Linked DNA regions of Homo sapiens: region 2 is linked to region 1. Evidence: promoter capture Hi-C in 16 types of primary human blood cells and fetal thymus (Javierre and others, 2016). All regions are on one chromosome and are shown on one strand. The core of a region is centred on a gene start or on the middle of the fragment in contact, and the rest is flanking DNA. Distances in the headings are between cores, read along the strand shown. Region 1 holds the start of IFITM10 (interferon induced transmembrane protein 10). Region 2 has its middle 7.0 kb from the start of H19.

What was found. Contacts are between HindIII fragments. The CHiCAGO score rates a contact against its expected background, and 5 or more counts as called.
Region 2: a fragment that was not itself captured here is called in contact with the fragment with the promoter of IFITM10 in region 1 in 1 of 17 cell types (neutrophils); the score reaches 5.8 in neutrophils.

Annotation. Positions count from the first base shown.
Region 1 is chr11:1,748,421-1,752,347 of GRCh38, forward strand. It overlaps IFITM10 (interferon induced transmembrane protein 10), which reads right to left and starts at 2,175. Exons shown (of 3, transcript NM_001170820.4): 1 at 1,939-2,175. The coding sequence starts at 2,022. RefSeq lists enhancers at 475-1,230, 1,231-1,986. The HindIII fragment of the contact is 9,148 bases long and covers 1-3,927 here.
Region 2 is chr11:2,002,884-2,006,810 of GRCh38, forward strand. It overlaps a transcript of MRPL23 not described here. Among named protein-coding and RNA genes, the nearest start is that of H19, 7.0 kb to the left of the region's middle. The HindIII fragment of the contact is 6,201 bases long and covers 1-3,927 here.

The sequences.
Region 1 (3,927 bases), core at 925-3,424:
GACTGACACTGTTGCAAAACACAGAGTGCCCCAGCACCCCAAACAACCCCGCACACACGGGGCGCCGGACCCACAGCGACGCTGCCTCAGCCGCCAACCGGCAGAGCTAGCAGAGCGGCCAAAGCACCTGCCCACGGCGCCCGCGGACACCCGATACCGCCACGGGCACCGCCACGGGCTCCACCGCGGGCTGCACCGCGGGCTCTCCAGACCCCGGGGCGCACCCGCGGGCGCGCTCAGAGCCATTGACGAGTAAACAACTCCCCACACAAGGCGATGCAGGCTCAGCCACGAGCACCAAGAACCGGCACAGGTGCGGGGTCTCCAACTCGTGCGCACCGCCCCCCACCTCCAACCTGGGGACCCCAAGCGCGCACACTTGCCCGGAGCCACGCACCCCCGGGCCATACATAGACGCACAATAACAGGCTGTGAAATGAACACTTCTCCAACGAGGCACCAAGTCGCTCGCGCTCTGCGCCACCCCGCGTTCCCAGCTCCCGTGCGGCGCTCGCCGGGGGGTCTGCGGCCGAGGCTCTGCAGCCCCCAGCCCCATCCGGGTCTGCCGCAGCCCCCCGGACGGCGCCTCCTCACCTACAAGCGACTCCTCGGCGCGCGGCCGGACCCCCTGAGCCTCGGTGCGCGCGTCCTTCCGCCGTCCCGCGGGCCGCTGTCTGTCCACTGATCCGCCTCCCAGCGGCCCAACCTTGAGGGGGTGGGGAGCGCGCGGGGCTCGGCGGCGGCGCCGCTGCCTCCCCCGCCGCCTGCGCTCCCTCCGCAGCGCCAGACCGGCCGCGCGGCTGCAGCCCAGAGCCTGACTCACGGCGGCAGCGGGCACAGCCACCTCCCCGCCTCCGCCTCCTCCTGCCAGGAGGGTGGGGGCCTCGGAAGCCGCGACCCTGGGGAGTTGCAAGGTCCCGCAGGGATGGGACCCCTACAGCCCCCGACCAGGGTGTCCGCGCCACCTCCATCTCCCCGGACCCACTGCGTCTTCCTCCCCACCCCACCCGGCCCCATCCCTCTCGCGGAGCCCCCAGCCCCGTGGAAGACTGGACGCTCCCGGAACCCTCCCCATCTGCCTCCCCAAGAGAGACCCTCTTCCTCTTCCCACTCTCCCCATGGCGCTCCACCCCAGCGCCTGGGCCCTGCTGCCTCCAGGGACCCCCGCCCCTGGGTCCTGCCCTTCTGGCCTGTTGACTCTCAGTTCCAGCAGCTCAGTCCCCTCCTGACGAAGCTCCAGTCCCCTGAGCCCCAGCAGGCCCCCTACCTGACTGCCCGTCTCTGCCCCATCCTGTCCCTAACCAAGTCCACAAGGCCCCCAAGACCACCCTCCAGTCCCTTCCCTCCTTAGCCCACCAAGTCCAGGCCTTCCGGTAAGTTTCAGCACCCCCTACTCTGTTCCTTCCTGGCTGAGCCCACTCCTGCCCATCGGAGCTCCTGCCCCCTTTCCTGGAGTCTGACTTCACCCAGCCGGGGCCCCACTCCAGTTCACTCCCAGAGTCTGGGAGAATGTGGCCTCTCCTGCGCAGACCCCAGGTCATGCTCCATCTGCTCGCAGGGCAAAGTGTCCCGTTCCGAGCTCTGGTCCTGTGCTGAGGTCCTGGCTGCTAAGGACACTTGTCTCCCTGGAGGCTGGTTTACTCACCTGCCCACAGCCTCTCTGTGATCCCTACCAGCCCTTCTGAGCCTGGTCCCCTGAGGATACTTTGTTCCCTGTGAATCATTTTTCCTGACCAATGCCTGTCCTCCCAGCCTCAGCCGCCTCCGCTACCCCACCACATCCTCACTCTCACGGTATGCTTGACGCCAGCTGATCTTCCATCCCCATAACAGTCCCCATGAGTTCCTCCCCATGGAGAAAACTCCAGCCTTCCCTCCCTCCCTCCAAGTCCCCCACTTCACCACGCAGGTTCCCTGAGCTGGGTCCTCTTCACCAACCTCCAGCTCCCACTGAGCCTCGACCCTCTCCAAAGTCCCCCGGAAGCTGAGGATGCATGGCGGCCCCCGTTTTCCCTCCCTCATCTCTCTCCAAGCCCCATCCTCCCATGAAACTCCTTTCTCCTCTGCCACTCTCAACTGGCCTCCTGTGTCTCCGCAACCCTCTTTCCTGTCTGGAAGGCCAGTCCTGCTTGGGGTCCTGTCTGCCTGCCTGTGCCTGACTCTGAACCCTTTCTCTCCCCAAACCTCTGTTCTGAACCCTAATCCCCTGGAAAAGCCCAGCCCTCTGCAAGCCCCTCCTCTTTCCAGCCTAGTCCCCGCCCCTCATGCCTGGGCTGACCCGGGCACAGTGTTATCCACAGCACGCCAGGAACCCACAGCACAAGGCTGATCTTAAATGATGTTGATAAACCCTAACGAGCAGGAGGGGTCATGAAGCATGAGGAGCCTCCTCCTCGTCTCCTTGGGCACCCTGGCCATGCTCTCCCTGGAGCCCACAGGCCGTGGGTGGATGGGGCCTGTCGGAGAACCAGGGTTCCGTTCTCCCTCCCCAACTCCCTCCTCCTTTCCAAGGGCCTGGCCCAGGGAAAACTGGACCCGGTGTCCTCAGACGGGGCCTGATCCCAGGCTGAGTGTGGCCTGTGTGCCATGCCCCCATGTCTCCCCAGCATCTGAGCTGGGCTTACCCGGCCAGCCACCACCTTCTGGGAGACCCTGGCCTGCCACACAGCCTCTGCCCAGTGCTGCCCCACCCCAGTTTGCCCTGAAGGCCTCAGGCAGTGAGGAGGCCTCCATAGCAGGAGAGGGTTGCCTGGGCCCGAGGGTCCAGGGCCTGCCCAGGGTCACTGGGTAGGTGACAGGGGAGCCAGGGCCTGCTCCCGGCCTCAGGCCACCTTGGGGCTGCCTCTGAGGCCAGGAAACACCACTGAGAGGGAGCCAGGGGTCGCAGGGCAGAGCCAGGGCCGAGCCAAACTTGGCACAGCCAGCATTCATGTGACTGTTGGTGGGCTCCCCAAGGGCCTGGGCTCCAGCTTCCCCTTTGCTAGGGGTTTCTGGTTACAACCCACAGTCTAGACAGGGGGGGACTCCAGGCTCAGGGTCCAGTCACCAGCTAGAAAACCACGGAGGAACCCGGGGTCAGACTCCAGGGCCCCGAGAATCCTGCCGGGCTGGAGGGAGCCCTCGGAGCAACCCCAGGGCAGCAGCCATGAAGATGGGAGCTGGACGGAGCTGACAAGCTGCAGAAGGAGGGAGATGGGGAGAGTGGGACAGGGCAGGGACAACAGGGTATGGCTGCCTCCTTGTACCTCTCTGCCCTCCCAGGCCTCAGTGCACAAAGCATCTGATGACAGGACATTTGTCTCCCCAGAAGCCCTGCCAGGCCCTGCAGAGTTCTGCCCAGCTCTGCTCAGATTTCAGGCATGCCAAACGCCAGGCATGTGTTTCCAAGCCTCCGTGCCACCCTGGGTAAATGTTCTTGCTCCAGGTGTCTGCCGTAGCATGGCTCTGGGGTGAAAGCCCTGCAGCCCCTTGGGAGGAAGGCCAAGGCAGCCACCACCCTCAGGCAGAGGCATCAAGATAATGGCAAATGTCACATCTGCCTCATCTTCTAACCTGTTGGGGTGGGGCTCGAGGGGGCTCTAAGTGACTCCAGAGCTACTGATCCCAAAAGGAACTCTGCTCCCACCACCACATGCCCACAAACTCCTACTTACCTATTAGAACCCCAGGGGCTGCTACCACTGCATCCGGGCACACGCTCCCAACCCCTCCCCTCCCAGCGGAACAAGCGCACCGCGTTATCAGCCCGGGGATCCGTGACTGTGGCAGCTGTGGCTGGAGGGGACTTCTGAGTCCAATCCCTGCAACCAGGGACCCTGGGCAGGCTTGCTTGGTGCCAGCTCAGCTCACTGCACACAAAACCGCTTCTAGGGCCTGGGAGGCAAGAAGGCCCAGCTAGGCCAGCCCCCCCACGCCACCTGGGGCCAT
Region 2 (3,927 bases), core at 917-3,416, 250 kb after region 1:
CCCGATGTTAGTCGCATGAGTGTCTATCTCTGACAACCCTCGGGAACCAATGCGGCACCTGGCCTGGGAGACCTGGGACGTTTCTGTGGGTGAACCCCAGCCAGGCGTGCTCGGGCTGTGATGTGTGAGCCTGCACTGCCGCCGCGCGGCCACTTCTGATTCCACACGTACAGCCGATTCTGCGCCATCAGGGCAGTGAGACGGGCCTCCCTTGGTGAGGTCAGCAAGATGGGCCGCCCTCGGTGAGGCTGGCATCCAAGACTGAATGGGAAGCCTCCAGAAATACCTGTGCGCTGTGCTTGGCAGGCTCCCACGATCCCTGTTCCTGCTGGAGGCCCTGTTGGGAGGGTCTCCCTCTGGACCTTGGGCTCAAGTTCTTTGGGGTCCAAGTCATGACCACTGCAGAACAGAGATTTCTCTTTGCCTCCAAGTATCCACTGTCCTACGTGCTATGGGAGCTGTCATCGGTGGTGTCCCTGGGATTAGGCTCCCAGCCATGCATGGGCTCCTAGACAGCCCCAGGGTTCTCCCATTGGGAAATGCCGCTCTACTACACATCAGCCACAGCGCATTAATGCTTGGTTCTCCTGGTGAAACCGCCTCTGCAAAAATTATTACAGAAAATCGGCCGGCGGTGGTGGCTCATGCCTGTAATCCCAGCAGTTTGGGAGGCCGAGGTGGGTGGATCACCTGAGGTCAGGAGTTCAAGACCAACCTGGCCAACCTGACGAAATCCCATCTCTACTAAAAATACAAAAATTAGCTGGGCATGGTGGTGGGCGCCTGTAATCCCAGCTACTTGGGAGGCTGAGGCAGGAGAATCACTGGAACTCCGGAGGTGGAGGTTGCAGTGAGCCAAGATCGAGCCATTGGACTCCAGCCTGGATGATAAGAGCGAAACTCTGTCTCAAAAAAAAAAAAATATATAACAGAAAATTATGACAATGAAAGAGATCTGACGTAACCAACTCTGTCTTGCCTTCTTATTCATTTCTGGGTGCAGGCTGGACTAACTTTGGGAAGAACTTAGTTTATAGTTTATCTTTGAAACAAAGACAATAACAGCCCTTTCCCAGGACAGACCCTCTTCCTGCCTGGGGACTAGACTTTCAGGACTAACAAATTAGCCACAGATTAGAAATTATGGTTTAGGAGTCATGGAGTCACACATCTGGAGGCTGAAAGATTTTTAACCTCCTCAAATTGCTCCTAGGATTACATCACTGTTGCAGAACCTAAGATCAGTGGTTGAGATATTTCGCAGACCCTGTACTGGGTGGATCAGCTGGCACCCCCCAGATTGATAAACTGGCTCATCTAGTCTTGTGGCCCCCACCCAGGAACTGACTCAGCAGAAAAAGATGGCTTTGACTCTCCATGATTTCATCTCTGACCCAACCAATCAGCACTCCCTATTGACTCGCCCCCTACCCACCAAATGATCCTTAAAAACTTTGATCCCCAAATTTCCTGGGAGACTGATTTGAGTAATAATAAAACTCTGGTCTCCTGCACGGCCGACTCTGTGTGAATTAAACTTTATTGCAAGTCACCTGTTGTGATAAAGCAGCTCTGTCCAGACCGGCGGCAGGGAGAACCTGTTGGGCGGTTAGACGGGTTCAGACACTACTCTCCTGGGGGTGATGGACATCTCTTCTGTTCACTGATTCCCGGAGGAAGATTTGGGAGATTTTGCCTGGGAGCAGGCAAACACCTCGGGCTATTTGCTTTCTAATGGGGCATTTGCATGTGTATAGGACAGACCGGGAGCTGCCCAGTTTCTGCTTCCAGGCGCACCTGCTAAGAGTAGTCTTGCCAGTGAAGCGACTGCTGGGGTACAGCAGCACAGCACAGGGGACCTAGTTTTTTTTTGTTTGTTTTTTTGTTTTTTGAGTCTCGCTCTGTCCCCTAGGCTGGAGTGCAGTGGCATGATCTCGGCTCACTGCAGGCTCCGCCTCCCGGGTTCACACCATTCTCCTGCCTCAGCCTCCCAAGTAGGTGGGACTACAGGCGCCCACCACCTCACCCGGCTAATTTTTTGTATTTTTAGTAGAGATGGGGTTTCACCGTGTTAGCCAGGTTGGTCTCGATCTCCTCATCTTGTGATCCGCCCGCCTCAGCCTCCCAAAGTGCTGGGATTACAGGCGTGAGCCACCGCACCCAGCAGGGGACCTAGTTTTGAGGACTACTGGGGTCGGGTCTGGTCTGTGCTGGCCACGGTAATGGTGAGTGCCTGGGTGCTATGATCCACACACAGGGTGGCACCAACATGAAAGTGGCCAGAGCCCCAGCCAAGGTGCCCAGAGCACTTGGGTGGGGATGTGGGCACAGCGCTGTCACCTGGAGGCAGATGTGGGCACAGTGATGTCACATGGACAGGTATATAACCACAGTGATGTCACCAAGACAGGACGTGGGCACAGTGCTGTCACCGGGATAAAGATGTGGGCACGGTGCTGTCATCTAGATAGACACATGAGCACTGTGTGTCACCTGGATAGGGATATGGCACAGTGTCACCCGGATAGGGACATGGCACAGCGTGTCACCTGGATAGGGACACAGGTATAGCGTGTCACCTGGGTGGGACATGGGCATAGCACATCACCTGGGTGGGACACGGGTACGGCACGTCACCTGGATAGGGACACGGGTACGGCACGTCACCCGGGTGGGACACGGGTACGGCACGTCACCCGGGTGGGACACGGGTACGGCACGTCACCCGGGTGGGACACGGGTACGGCACGTCACCCGGGTGGGACACGGGTACGGCACGTCACCCGGGTGGGACACGGGTACGGCACGTCACCCGGGTGGGACACGGGTACGGCACGTCACCCGGGTGGGACACGGGTACGGCACGTCACCTGGATAGGGACACGGGTACGGCACATCATGCGGGTGGGACATGAGTACAGCGTGTCATTAGATAGAGGGGCTTTCTCTTCTCTCTCCCCTGTGGCTGGGACCTACCCAGATATAAGTAATGGGATAGCCCACTTGGGCTTTGCCAGTTCCCTGAGGCTGCCATAAGGAAGCCCCAGAAACTGGGCTGATTGGAACAACCACGTGGAATGCGTCTCTCCCTGTTTCGATGCTAGAAGGTCAGAGTCGGGGTGGTCAGGGCTGGCTCCTTCTTCGAGCTCTAAGGGAGGCTCCAGTGCTGGCCGACTTTCCCAGTGTTCCCAGGCTCCCAGACCTGTCACCCCAGCCGTGCCCATCTTCCAGGATGCTCTCATCCTGCGCCTTCACGCAGCGTTGCTCTCTCGTGCCTCTCCTCTACCTGTGAGGACACCATGATGTTTGATTCAGGGCCTGCCCTACTGCAGTCTGACCTGATCGATTGCGTCTATAATGACCCTATTTCCAAATGAGTTCGTGCTCTGAGATGCTGGTGGTCAGGGCTTCAACTTGTCTTTTCTGGAGAGGCACTAAACAGACTCCATGAGGAACTGAGGAGTCCAGAGCAGTGAGATGGAAGGAGGCTGGGCCCTGACCCTGGGAGCTGGCGATCTTCACACTCATGACCCTCTCATGTCTCTCTCCGTGACAGAGAAAAGCCAGCTCTGGGCCCATTCAGGATCGTCCTGGGGTTTCCTGGCTGTGGCAGCTGTACCTCCCTCTCACCTGTGCCCACCACTCCAGAGCCGGTGTGTGGGCTCACGCTGGTGGCTGAGTCCTGACCGTGGGGTAACCAAGGGGGAGGCATGAAGATGAGGTCCCGAGAGGAGACACAGGACCGTTCTCCTGATGTGAGCAGGGGTGAGCACAGTCTCATAGGACTGTGTCCTTATAGGAAGAGGAGAGGAGGACACAGACACACACGGAGGGATGACCCCGTGAGGACATGTGGAGAAGGCAGGATCTATAAGCCAAGGAGAGAGGCCTTGGAGGACCCAGCTCTGCAGCAGCCCTGATCTTGGA